Regions from separate parts of the Homo sapiens genome. Here region 2 is linked to region 1. The links are contacts of gene promoters, found by promoter capture Hi-C in blood cells and fetal thymus (Javierre and others, 2016). All regions are on one chromosome and are shown on one strand. The core of a region is centred on a gene start or on the middle of the fragment in contact, and the rest is flanking DNA. Distances in the headings are between cores, read along the strand shown. Region 1 holds the start of CPNE9 (copine family member 9). Region 2 overlaps EMC3 (ER membrane protein complex subunit 3).

Evidence for each region. Contacts are between HindIII fragments. The CHiCAGO score rates a contact against its expected background, and 5 or more counts as called.
Region 2: a fragment that was not itself captured here is called in contact with the fragment with the promoter of CPNE9 in region 1 in 1 of 17 cell types (monocytes); the score reaches 7.1 in monocytes.

The regions. Positions count from the first base shown.
Region 1 is chr3:9,700,478-9,707,447 of GRCh38, reverse strand. It overlaps CPNE9 (copine family member 9), which reads right to left and starts at 3,615. Exons shown (of 21, transcript NM_153635.3): 1 at 3,384-3,615; 2 at 2,821-2,861; 3 at 2,653-2,699; 4 at 2,454-2,557; 5 at 1,948-1,984; 6 at 1,728-1,730; 7 at 1,385-1,461. The coding sequence starts at 3,451. It overlaps MTMR14 (myotubularin related protein 14), which reads right to left. Exons shown (of 19, transcript NM_001077525.3): 19 at 5,055-5,658. The coding sequence ends at 5,475. It overlaps LOC124909344 (a long non-coding RNA gene), which reads left to right and starts at 6,956. Exons shown (of 2, transcript XR_007095816.1): 1 at 6,956-6,970. RefSeq lists an enhancer at 3,066-3,976. The HindIII fragment of the contact is 18,760 bases long and covers 1-4,332 here.
Region 2 is chr3:9,975,156-9,982,125 of GRCh38, reverse strand. It overlaps EMC3 (ER membrane protein complex subunit 3), which reads left to right. Exons shown (of 8, transcript NM_001394674.1): 2 at 4,680-4,737; 3 at 5,076-5,169. Among named protein-coding and RNA genes, the nearest start is that of EMC3, 8.2 kb to the left of the region's middle. RefSeq lists an enhancer at 4,498-5,697. The HindIII fragment of the contact is 2,506 bases long and covers 567-3,072 here.

The sequences.
Region 1 (6,970 bases), core at 2,366-4,865:
AGCATCCTGGATTACTGTCAGAGTCTTCTCATTGGCTCTCTGCTTCTACCTTTGGCCACCCAAGGTTTATTCTTTTTTTTTTTTTTTTTTTTTTTGAGACAGAATCTCGCTCTGTTGCCCAGGCTGGAGTGCAGTGGCACAATCTCAGCTCACTGCAAGCTCCACCTCCCAGGTTCACGCCATTCTCCTCCCTCAGCCTCCCAAGCAGCTGGGACTACAGGCACCCACCACCATGCCTAGCTAAGTTTTTGTATTTTTAGTAGAGACAGGGTTTCACCGTGTTAGCCAGGATGGTCTCGATCTCCTGACCTCGTGATCCGCCTGCCTCAGCCTCCCAAAGTGCTGGGATTACAGGTGTGAGCCACCGCGCCTGGCCCCCAAGGTTTATTCTTAACCCCACAGCTAGCACCATCTTTTGTAAGCCGCCATGTCATGTCACTCCTCCGCTCAGAACCCTCCAGTGACTCCCGTTTCAGAGGAAAGGTGGAAGTCCGCTGCAAGGCCCTGTTAGCTCTTCAACCTCACTTCCTCCTGCCTCCCAGTCACCTGGCTCCAGTCTTGCTGGCCTCCTTGCTGTTCTTTGAATGCACCAGGCTTTTGCACTGGCAGTCTCCTCTGCCTGGAACATTCTTCCTCCACATGTCTGTACCTTACCTCCCTCAGGTTGTTGCTCCAAAGTTACCTGTCCGTGAGGCCTGCTCAACCGCACTGTTGAATCCTGCACCTCCCACTCACCCATTATTTCCAGTTCCGTTGATTCTGCTCTACTTCGTCTCTTTCCCCATAGCACTTAATATTGTCTAATCTATTATGTAATTTACTTATGTCTATTTTGTACTGTCCTCCCCACACAACTAGAGTATCAGCCCCCTGAGGACAAGAACCTTTGTTTTGTTCACCATTGCAAGCTAATCCCCTTTAACAGTGGCTGACATAGGGTATGTATACATAGTGTTTGTGGAATGAATGAAGCCCTGGTGCCTAGAACAGGGTGTGGGATATAAAACATGCTAATGCATATTTAGTGAGTGGATGTAATGGTAATTCCTGAGGATTTGACTTAGTCCGGGGGAGCTTCCCTGTGGAGAGGGGCTTGGAAGTGGACCTTAAAGGCTGAATCAGACTTAGAAAAAGAGTGAGGAGAGAGAGAGAGAAACAGAGAGAGAGAGAGAAAAAAAAAAAAGAAAAGAAAAGACATATCAGGCCTGATACTGACTCGGGCAGAGCACTGGAAATTGGACTTTTCTACGAGGGTGATGGGAGCCGGGGCAGGCTCCTGACCAGGGGCAACCCCAGCCTCCACTTCTATCAGTCAGCGGCATCCTTGGGAGGGAGAATTTGGAAGCCCCCACCCCACTCCCACACCCCTTCCTATTCAGCTTACGTGAGGGTTCGCTCTACTCGGCTGCCCTGGCCTCCAATCACCTCTCCCAGGGCCAGGAACGCTTGTCCCAGGAAATCCTATGCAGGACAAGGAGTCAGCAAGACCAGAAGCTCTTGAGTGCTGAGTCCCAGCCTAGCCCCAGTGATGCTCCTGCACAGGACCAGGGCAGTTCCCAGGCGAATGAGTGGTGCAAGAGCCACGGCCCTACATGGGCTTTAATGGAGGGGGTGTGAAAGAAGGGGTCTGCGAGCAATCTCTGCCTTGTAGTGGGTCATCAGTCCAAGCCTGTTCTCCACAATACCACCCCCACCCCCAACCTCTGCCCAGCCCCATTCAGCCTCACCTTCTGCAGGTCCCAGCAGTGGCAGCCAAGAAGGAAGAGGAACAGTGAGTAGGGGGCACAGGCAGGACACTCAGGCAGGAGGAGAGGGACCAGGAGGGTGGGTTGGGGGCCTGAAGAAGATGGGGTCTGGGTCGAGGGTTGGGAGGAGTTCTGAGAGTCGTTGAACACATCTAAGTGCCTCCTGTGCGCTCCGCCAACCCTCGAGGAAACGTTTGCTCACCGGTTTGGAGATGTTGGTTTTGGAGTCCACGTTGTACCTGGGAAAAGAGTGGAACCGGTGTGGGGTGGGGCTGGGTGGGGGAGAGGGTGGAAAGGGGTCGGGCACCGAGTCTTGGTGAAAATTTTGGGTGGAGGGATGGGCGGCCGTGGACCCGAATTCAGCTTTGGTCTCCTTTTGGGGAGGAGTCAGGGTGGGCTGAGTAGTCAGACGGTCAAGCCTGGGCCGAGGCCAAGTCAGGGGCTGCTGGGGGCAGGGTTGTGTGGAAGGGGTCGGGCCTGAGGTGGAGCTGCGATAGGAGCAGAGTTGTGGGCGGGGCCAGAGCGGGGGACGGAACTGGACCGCATCTCATAAAAGGGCAGGGCTCAGGCTAGAGGGGGCCATTCAGAATGGGAGGGAGGCCTGCGAGAAGAACCAGGCCGGAGGCGAGGCGGGGGTGGGGCCAGCCAGAATTCCGGGCGGATCCAGGTCGGGGGCGGGCCAAGCCAGAATTCCAGGCGGGGCCTCACACATCGAAGCGCAGATTTTGCTTTTCCTCAAAGAAATAGTCGAGGACGAATTTGCGCACGAAGTCTGGGTTCAGCGTGTTATCAATCACCTCGGTCCGTCCGAACTGGGTAGGGGGGTGGAGGGTCAGCGTGGGACGTGCAGACGGGCAGGGGAATTCCCGGGCGACGCCCTGGGCCGGGAGGGGGCTCTGGGACTCACCTCCCGCCACTCCTGGCTGGCCCGGCTCTGCGTGTAAAGCACCACCACTGCAGGTGGGGGCGGGGAGGGAAGGACGTCAGGTCGGCTCCCACCCCTGGCCCCGACTCCACCCGCCCCTGAGTCGCGCCCAGACCCCAAGTTCCCCCTCCCGGTCCTGGAGCCGCCTACTGGGGTCGGACTTGGAGAAGGTATCAAGGTCTAGCAGGTTCCTAGAGAAAAGCAACAGACAGACAGAGTGGATCATCCTGGAGTCCGCCCGCCTCGAGTCGGCTCTGAGCCGGGCACTGAGGAGAGGCATGGGGCCCGCATCGAACCTCTGTCCCCCATGGCTACCCCCAGCCGGGGTCCGCTCTGTCAGCACTCTGGACAGCACCGGAAATCGCTGTCCAGGAACCATGGCTCTGCGGACTGGACGCGAACGCACCCACACTGTCTCCAAGGGCCCAGGAAAGAGGGCTCGCCCCAGAACTTTGTCCTCCTGGGGCCGAGCTCCTACCGGATATCTGCGACCCACCCCCTGAACCCGCAGGCTGAGCCCTTTTTTCGGGGTGGGGCTGCCCAAGACCCCCCGCTTCTCGATCCCACCAGCTACTCGCCCTGTCATCAGCTGTGATTTTCCAGCCAATTTCGCCTCTCCCCGGGGGTCTAGCCCCTGCCCAGGCTGAGCCCCGCGGCTGGCTGGGGCTGGGGCAGTGCCAGTGCCTAAGCCCTCCCCAGCGCGGCCCGCTCACCGGCAGGACACGGTAATTTCAATCTTGGTGGCCGGGACGCTGCGCTCGGAGGCTCCGCCGAGAGACATGGCTGGTCGGGCGACCAGAGCCGCAGGAGGCTGCGAGACCAGGGCTGCTGGGGCTAGGGGCGACGGCAGCGGCGGGGCCGGCCCATGTGCCGCGGTGTCGGCGGCGGCGGCGGCTGCACTCGCTCCAGCCCTGCGTGCGCTCCAGCCGCTCGCGCCCTGACAGTGGCCGCCGGCGGCAGCGGCTCCAGATGGCAGCACAGCCCCGCCCGGCCCTGCGGGCGGCCCCCGCCCCATTGGAGCAGCCTGGAGCCAGCGGGGAACCTCACCCCGACTCCCAACTCCAACCCACACCTTGGTAGAGTCTGCCCTGCGCAAGTCTCTGGGGTGGAAACCCAAGCCCCCTAGAGTTGTCCATGATGCTGAAACATTTGGGGCACCTGGTGGGCACTGGAATTGTTGCCTCTTACTGAGCCACTCCCTTAGTGTTTCTGTCTTTTCCCACTCCCAGCCTGCCTAGGTCTCTGAATAGGAAAAGTACATCTCTTAGTAGCTGTGTGACCTTGGACAAGTTACTCAACATCTCTGTGGCTCAACCGTGAAAGGCCGTCAGAAAGGCCTTTAACAGCAGCTACTTTAGGTGCTGTAAAATTTTACTGAGATAACCCAAGGAAAACACTTAGCACACAGCAAGTGCTCAGTAAACATTCACTGGTATTTATGATTTGTCCTCTGGGTATTCACAATGATGACAGTAAATGGTGGCTGTTGAGCACCGTGCAAAGCTGTCTGCCCATGCCTTTAACCCTCACGACTTTCATGGCGTTACAGATGCGGACACACTCTCATGACGCAATCTACTGTAGGTTACACTGTAGAAGAGGGTGGTGGTCAGCCAGGCTCTCACCCACCACACATGCACACCAATTGCTATCTCCAAAGCTTCAGAAGCCAGTCCTTCCTCCATAGGCAGGGCTCAAGGTAGGGGATGCAGGTCACCCGTACCAGGACCCTGCTGCCTACAGAACTTGTTAAAGATGAAGATCCTGGTCAGGTACGGTGGCTCATGCCTGTAATCCCAGCACTTTAGGAGGCCAAGGCAGGCAGATCACTTGAGCTCAGGAGTTTGAGACTGGCCTGGCCAACATGGTGAAACCCCATCTCTACTAAATACAAAAATTAGCTGGGGATGGTGGCACGTTCACGTAGCTACTCAGGAGACTGAGGCAGGAGGATCGCTTGAACCCAGGAGGCAGGGGTTGCAGTGAGCCAAGATTGTGCCATTGCACTCCAGCTTGGGTAACAGTGAGACTCCATCTCAAAAAATCTGAAAAAAATGAAGATCCTCCAGCTCCTAATTCCCAGGCAACTTCCTTAGCAACCCTAAGGCTAAAGCTCAGGCAGCCCTGGGAATGTGCACAGCTCATCAGGCTCTCTAGGTGACTAGGACCTGCTTAGGCCCGAGAACCACTACTCTCAACAGTCTTGAGTGTTGTCCCCACTGCAGGGACTACCATGGCTCATGAGTGGAGAGGTATACCTGTCGCCAGTTCTCTTCCTGTTTCACCTGCCCTCCACATAAAAACCCCTTGTCCAGCACAAGGAAGGACAATGAGAACCTTCCTAGTAGCTCCACAAAGACAATAACCAAATGATGACACAAGAGTGGCTATTCAAAAAGACTTTGATTTTATTTTGTGATCTGTGTCAAACTGCCTCATTCTCAGTGCAGGTGATCCCTCCTCCCCAGAAACAAGAACTGACAGGTAGGGTCTTTGTGAAGTCATGGCTTCCACAAGGCCCCAGGGAAACCCCACACAGTTCTGAGAGTTGATGGGAATCCCAGCAAAGATGGGGTGGGTGGGAGACAGTGACAAGAAGGGGTGGTGGTCACCAGTCAAGAGGCTGGGGGTTGGAAAACCCTGTCTTTGGCCTTGCTCAGCTTTGGGGCTGCCATGTTCATGATGGAGATGGGGGACTGAAATTTCCCCTGACCTGGAAGTACCCCTTCGGCCAGGCATGGCTTTGATTCTCTGCTAAGGGCTCAGCTGAGAGAGGAGCAGGAAAATGTCATGGGCTGGCTTCTTCACAAGGCATTGCTGCTGATGCTCCGGAGTCCAACACCACGGGCAAATTGCTCCAGCAGGCCCCCGATGGCACCGGAAGGACTGGGGGCTACTGCCCGAAGCCCCACTGTGCTGCTGTACGCAGCCAAGAAGGCTGAGCGCACCTCCTGCAGCCGAGTCTCTCGATCACTCAGGGCTGCAAGCCTATGGGGAGGTCAAGAGAAAGAACAAAGACATTACCCTGGGACAGGACCCAGTATCCTCATCCTCCCTCCCTCCATACCACCTGTCCTTGTGCTTCTTCTGACTGTACAAGGCCAGTGTCTGTCCTACGGCCATGCTATCCTTGTGGTTCAGGCCCCAAATATCTGGCCCTGTTTTCCCTTAAACCATTCCTCTAAGCCCTCAGGCTACTGTTCCCACCTAGAGCAGGAGCTTTTACTGGGACACTAACCTTTTTTTTTTTTTTCTTGAGACAAGGTCTCACTCTATTGCCCAGGCTGGAATGCAGTGACACAATCAGCGCTCACTGTAGCCTCAAGCCATCCTCCCACCTCAGCCCCTCAAGTAGCTGGGACTACAGGCACATGCCACCATGATAGGGTTTTACCATGTTGCCCAGGCTGGTCTCAAACTCCTGGACTCAACTGATCCGCCTGCCTTGGCGTCCCACAGTACTGGGATTACAGGCGTGAGCAACTGTGCCTGGCCTGACCTGACCTGTTGTGAAAATAACTATCTTTGCGATCACTGGGAAGGAGGGTAGCTAAGCAGGAGGGAATTTGCCCCAGCAGCTCTCTGCTTCCACTCCTCAGGAAGAGCAAGCTGAGGCATGAAGTCTTATACCTAACAGTAAGGAGGCCCCTGAAATCTGGCAGCACGCTGCAGCTGTTGAAAGTCCTCAGCCTTGGCTGTAATCCCAGCACTTTGGGAGGCCGAGGCAGGTCAGGAGTTCGAGACTAGCTTGGCCAACATGGCAAAACCCTGTCTCTACTGAAAATATAAAAATTCACTGGACATGGTGGCATATGCCTGTAATCCCAGCTACTTGGGAGGCTGAAGGCAGGAGAATCACTTGATCCCGGGAGGCAGAGGTCACAGTGAGCCAGACTGCACCACTGCACTCCAGCCTGGGCAACAGAGTGAGACTGTGTCTAAAAAAAAAAAAAAAAGAAAAGAAAAAAAAGGCCCCAGCCTTGAGGCCTAGACATGACGCATCTTAGGAGGAAGCTATTGCCCTGGAAGAACCCACTGTCTGCTGGGTTGAAGCCAGGGTTCCCCACTGGAAACCTCTAGGGCTTTAGCTACACCTTCAGTCACTGTGGTTTCCAGGTAAACAGCTGAAAGGGTGCTGGCTTTTCCAGAAAGATCTGTGTTCTGATTCTATTCCCCATTCCTCTCTTGGCCTCTGTAGGCTCTGATCACAGATGAAAGCCCCTCTTCTTTCCTTACCCTGAAATTACAAGTCAAGAAGGGAAACAAGTGCGCACAACTCAGGCTTATCAAAGCATGACTC
Region 2 (6,970 bases), core at 570-3,069, 280 kb before region 1:
ATACAAAAATTAGCTGGGGTGGTGGTGCACGCCTGTAGTCCCAGCTACTCTGCGGGCTGAGGCAGGAGAATCTCTTGAACCCAGGAGGCAGAGGTTTCAGTGAGCCGAGATCACGCCACTGTACTCCAGCCTGGGTGACAGAGCAAGATGAGACAATGTCTCAAAAAAAAAAAAAATTTTTTTTAACAGGTATTAAACCAAAGCTGTAAAATACATGAATGAAATATATTAGACTAGGTTTGGGGATAGATTATGTGTAAAAAATGGTTCTCAGACTTGACAAATATACTACTGACATTTTGGAAAGGAAGAAACACTGATTCTTAAGAATTTGGAACTCTGGTTTGAGAAGTACTGACTTTAAAGTTTTATTCCAAGAAAATATCTTTCAGGCCTGGTGCAATGGCTCACACCTATAATCCCAGCACTTTGGGGGGCTGAGATGGGAGGATCCCTTGAGCCCAGGAATTTGAGACCAACCTTGGCAGCATGGTAAGACCCTGTCTCTGCAAAAAATAAATAAATAAATAAATAAAAGATGTCCTTCAGTTGCAAATTACAAAGCTTTATAACAGTACAGAGACTTATTTTTAGATATTCATGAAAATAAAAATACAAAATTAAAAATTTCTTTTAGAATTTGCAAACTTCAGAGAACACAGCTATGGATCTCAGCTTAAGAAAGTGAGTGTTAGAAAATACAGGATAATTTAAGATTGCTTATTTAGGTCTTGAAATACCTCAGGGTCACAATACTCAACTTCATTTTTACAAAATTGTTCAGCAGTGTAATTGTAGGAGATTTAGATGAATTTCTCTTGATTACACTGCCTGGGAAAGTCTTGAGTTATCGTAGACTGGACAAGTGTTTTTTCGTTTGTTTTTCTGGGGACAGGGTCTTGCTTTGTCACCCAGGCTGGACTAAAGAGGTTGAGGCTGCAGTGATTGAGGCTGCGATCGCAGTGGTGCGATCATGGCTCACTTCAGCCTCGATCTCCCGGGCTCAAGTGATCCTCCCACAGCCTCCCGAGTAGCTGGGACTACAGGCACACGCCACTGCACCTGGCTAATGTTTAAATTTTTTTGTGGAGACAGTGGTCTCATTATGTTGACTAGGCTGTTCTTGAACTCCAGGGCTCCAGGGCTCAAGCAATCCTCCCACCTCAGCCTCCCAAAGTATTGAGATTACAGGCGAGAGCCACCACGCCTGGCTGTGAACAATGGCCTTTTGATGGCCTATCATGTGCCTTGCACTCTGCTGCATGCTGTGGGGTACAGTGTAAGACAAGGTCACGACCCTGCTCTCAGAGTTTCTGTTCAAGTAATAAAATATGCAAAGGAAAAAATAACAGATACTATTAATCTAGTGCTTAGGATGTGCCAGGTACAGTCATATAAGATCATATATGTGAAGAACTCAGCCTAAAATTCTCCACTTGGCTGGGTGTGGTGGCTCACGCCTGTAATCCCAGCACTTTGGGAGGCTGAGGCAAGTGGATCACTAGAGTCCAGGAGTTAGAGACCAGCCTGGGCAGCATAGTGAGACCCTGTCTCTACAAAAAAAAAAAAAACAAAAAAAACAAAACACAAAAGTTTGCCAGGTGTCATGGTGTGTGCCTGTAGTCCTAGCTACTCGGGAGACTAAGATGGGAGGATCACTTGAGCTCCAGAGGTCAAGGTTGCCATGAGCCAAGATTGTACCACTGCACTCCAGCCTGGACAACAGAGTAAGACCCTGTCTCAAAAAAAAAAAAAAATCCTTCATTAGTTTCCTTTTGCTCTTAAGACAGTGATCAAAATACAGTGGGACCTGGCTGGGCATGGTTTTTCATGCCTGTAATCCCAGCACTTTGAGAGGCTGAGGCAGGCGGATCATCTGATGTCAGGAATTCGAGACCAGCCTGGCCAACATGGTGAAACCCCATCTCTACTAAAAATACAAAAATTAGCTGGGCATGGTGGTGCGCGCCTGTAACCCCAGCTACTCTGAAGGCTGAGGCGGGAGAATTGCTTGAACTCGTGAGGCAGAGGTTGCACTGAGCTGGGATTGCGCCATTGCAGTTCAGCCTGGGAGACAGAGTGAGATTCCATCTCAAAAAAAAAAAAAAAAATACAGTGAGACCACATGATTTTGTATAGTCTGGCTCTTGCACACCTCTCAAGTCTTGTTTTCATCACATTTTCTATAGTTCTCCTTTTTCCAGTCATGTGGCCTTTTCTCAGGTCCTCAGAGGCAGAGTGTTTACTTCTACGAGGCTTTTGCCCATTTTGTTTACACCAGCACTTTGCCAAGGTAATCCTCACTCATCCTGAAGAGTCCAGCTTAATCCTACATCCTCAGCAAACTCTCAGACCTTGACTTTCCAGACTCCATCACCTCCTGGTTATGCACTCTTGCAATACCATCCATCTCTCTCTAGGACATGATAATTGAATTTCACATTTATTCCTCTGGTTATTTGGTTAATGTCTTTCCCCCTCACTAGACTTTGACCATCGTAAGATATTTGTATTTTGATCACCGTTCTTCATGTCACCTGGCACTTAGAAGTTCAAGAAATATTTGTTCAATGAAAGAATAAATCTACCCTTGTACAGAATATGAATAGAGACTTAGGGAATTTAAGTGACTTGCTCAAGATCACATGGCTAATAAGTGGCAGAGGTGGGATTGAACCCATGTGTTCAACTCCAGAGCTTAAGTTTTTACCCATTACTCTAGACCCAGTGCTTCTTATACTGTCAATGGTGAAGGACCAGTTTTGGGGTTTTTTGTTTTTTAAATTTCTAATCTCTTATAGGCTAATACTTTTGTAAAATATTTTGATCATGTATCTGGATGTTGTGACAATGTCAAATTATTATAAAAGTCTCTAAATCCTTACTCTCAGTGTCTGTGCTTATCACAGACTAGCATTCACCACACTTTGAGTATCTTTAGACTAGCATCCAGGGAGCAGAATGTATTACATGTTGCGCCCTGTAGATAAAGTAGAGAACTGTATAGCATAATGAGCTCAGGAGGAGGAAGCAGAGAGAATTCCACGAGGGCTCCAGGCATTGGGAAAAGCTTCGTGGAGATGCTGAGACTTGAAGATGTTAAGGCATGATGGAGTAGAACTCGGAAAGGAAAGGGCACTGGAACATTCCCAGCATGTGGAGAAACTAGAATATGTGTAGTGTGACAGGGGAAACCCCGGGGTACTGACTGTTTAAAACAAGTGGTTTGTATTGAGTAGAGACAGGAAGCCAAGCACAGTTTTTTTGTTTGTTTGTTTGTTTTTTGTTGTTGTTGTTTTTTTGAGATGGAGTCCCACCCCAGGCTGGAGTGCAATGGCGTCGTCTCGGCTCACTGCAACCCCCTACCTTCCTGGTTCAAGTGATTCTCCTACCTCAGCCTCCTGAGTAGCTGGGATTACAGGCACAGGCCACCACACCCGGCTAATTTTTATATTTTTAGTAGAGACAGGGTTTCATCATGTTGGCAAGGCTGGTCTCAAACTCCTGACCTCGTGATCCGCCCACCTCGGCCTCCCAAAGTGCTGGGATTACAGATGTGAGCCACTGCGCCTGGCCCCTACCAAGCACAGGTTTTACTATGTTCATTTCTGTTCATAATTTTTTTTCACGTTTCAAGACTATTTCCATTACTTTAAGGGCCTTTTCCTCTTTTCCTCCTTTAATGAACTTTTGAGTACCTAGAAAAAAATTAATATTTTGATCTCTGTTTTGTCATTTGCATCTTAGCAACACCCATTTGTTGCATAACACTGTATTCTTTTTTTGTTGTTAGAGACAGGGTCTTAACTGTTGCCCAGGCTGGAGAGCAGTGGCGCCATCTCAGCTCATTGCAACCTCTGCCTCTTGGGCTCAGGTGATCCTTCTACTGCAGCCTCCTGAGTAGCTGGGACTACAGGCACGTGCCACCAGCCTGGCTAATTTTTTTTTTTTTTTTTTTTTTTTTTTTTTTTTTTTTTTTTAGAGACAGGGTCTTGCTATGTTGCCCAGGCTAGTCTCAGACTCCTGGGCTTAAGTGATCCACCTGCCTTTGCCTTCCAAATTGCTGGGATTAGAGGCGTGAGCCACTGCACCTGGCCTAGCATGATATTTATTGATCAACTATGGCTCTAATAGTTGATTTAAGATCACCTAGTAATTTCATTTATTTATTCAATAAATGTTTACTGAGAGCTTTCTAACAGTCTGACTTCTGGGTAGATTTTCTATTTGTCCATCAGATAGCAACCCTCTCAAGGCCTGTTCTCATTTCTCTGTAGGTAATAAGAAATTCCTTCTTTTATCCTCACTCTTCTCCCTTTCTCCTGACCCCAGATCTCCTGAGCAGTGTTCAACTATTCTTTTCACTCAGAGAAAGTGTCTTCCTAGCTTATTATCAAATAAGAAAAAGCTGAGTGTAATGTCCCAAATGTACCTAACTCTGAAATATTTATGTGTTCAGAAACACAGTCACTTTTGAAAAATACTTTTCTGAAAACCTAGTAGTTAGGTTAAATAAGTTTACGTTGGTTTTAAAGATACTTGTATTTTGGGAAGTTTCCACACAGAGCTGTTGCCAAATAGGCCCTCTCTTGTGTTTAAATAGGTCTTCTACTTGACTCTCCCATTTTCTTCTAGTGTTTCACTTTTTAAAATCTCATTGTGTTGGTTGTATTTTTCAGTCAAGTCCTAATTCGAAGCAGAGTCCTCAGGGAAAATGGAAAATACATTCCCAAACAGGTACTCATTTATCTTTTATTAAAAAGCTCCACGATTCACTGTTGGGCAGTAGATATCTGAATGTTTTATAAGGGGGCTCTGGGGAAAGCTAAAGGTTGGCAACTTAGTAATTAAGCTGTGGCCTGGTGGTGTTTGCTCTCATGGTGACCTCACCCTTCTTAGGAAATTGTTTTTAAATGTGACTCAGCTAAAGTGTCAGGTCGCCTGCCAAGTAGGCTGACAGCTCTGAGCGGAACAGCATATCCTAAAGGCCTTCTGACTAAGCCACTGGGGAGTAATTTAACAGTTTGCTGTGTCATAGTTCTTAGACTTAAAACACTTTTTTTTTTTTTTACTAGTCTTTCTTGACACGAAAATATTATTTCAACAACCCAGAGGATGGATTTTTCAAAAAAACTAAACGGAAGGTAGTGCCACCTTCTCCTATGACTGGTATGTTTGTTCCCTTCACTCATCTTTAAGGAAGATTTTTAACATGGGTATTTGAGTGGGGTGGGGTAGGCAGGGAGGGTGTCATTTTATTTAAATGTTAAATTGCAAAAGATAGTAATCTTAGACCTTAGAAATCATCTGATACAGGGATCTATGGAAGTGGAATTCTCTTTTTCAGTTAGATTTTCTGAGAACCCCAATGTATAAAGTGGATTAAAAAAAATAGTTCTCAGCTGATGGAGTGGGGAGGCCAGAGCTATTGTCCCTGGGTCTCTCCTTATTGCTGTTCTCAGGACCCAGGATTCTAGGGAGCACAGTTGGTAAAGCATTCCAGCCTGGCTGTCACCCAGTGCCTGGATCCCCTTCCAATAGATGGCTGCCCAGCTTCTGCCTAAATGAGGAAGAGTGCAGTACTTCCAAGATGTGCCATTTTGTTGACTTTGTTGTTAGACGTGATTGTTTGGTCTACCCTACAGTTTTGGCTCTAACATTTTCTACTTCCACTGATACCAGTCATGTGAAAAATATAGCATGTTAAAAGTAAAACAGGCCAGGTGTGGTGGCTCACGCCTATAATCCTTGCATTTTGGGAGGCTGAGTCAGGTGGATTGATTGCCTGAGGTCAGGAGTTCAAACCAGCCTGGTTTACATGATGAAACCCCGTCTCTACTAAAAATACAAAAATTAGCCTAGCGTGGTGGTGGGTGCCTGTAGTCCCAGCTACCCCGGAGGCTGAGGCAGGAAATTGCTTGAACCTGGGAGGTGGAGGTTGCAGTGAGCTGAGGTCACGTCACTGCACTCCAGCCTGGGCGACAGAGCAAGACTCCATCTCCGAAAAATAAAAATAAAAATAACTAAAAGTAAAACAAAGTAATTTGTTGTTCTGTGTTGACTCCTCTCATTTTAGTACTATTCACTTCTTTAGGTGAGATAACCAGCTATTTTAAACCCATACGGAAGGTATTATAATTAATTTTTTTTGAGAGTGACTAAGGTTGTATGGAGTTAATTTTTTAACAAATTTTTAAGAAAATTTACAAGAAACAAAAGACCATTAAATATATGAAAAGTTACTTGACCTCACTAATAATCCATGGAATATCAATTAAAACAAGATATCTTTTTTTTTTTTTTTTTTTTTCTTCAGAAAGGAGTCTCGCTCTCTCACCCAGGCTGGAGTGCAGTGGTGCGATCTCGGCTCACTGCAGGCTCCGCCTCCCGGGTTCACGCGATTCTCCTGCCTCAGCCTCCAGAGTAGCTGAGATTACAGGCACCTGCCACCATGCCCGGCTAATTTTTTGTATTTTTAATAGAGACGGGGTTTCATTGTGTTAGCCAGGATGGTCTCCATCTCCTGACCTCGTGATCCGCCCGCCTTGGCCTCCCAAAGTGCTGGGATTACAGGTGTGAGCCACCGTGCCTGGCCAAGATATCTCTTTTTTTTTTTTTTAGCCCAGTAAGCTGTCAAAAGATTGAAAAGATTGTCAGGATCCACTATTGTCAAGGTCGAGGAAGTTAGGCTCCCTCACCATTGGCGGGAGTGGCAAGAGGTGGGGCCTTGCTGACAGTCTGACAATATCTATCAATTTTAAATGTACAAATCCTTGGACCTAGAAATTCTAAGAAATTCTCTTACGGAAACACATAAACATGCAGATGTATGTGCAAGATAATTGTCGGCAGCATCATTTATCGTTTATTGGCAAAAACAATGGAAACAATCGATAGGTCTACTCAAAAGTGATTGGTGTGACCACACCATGGAATCCTATGCAGACATTAAAAATATTGAGACTGGGTA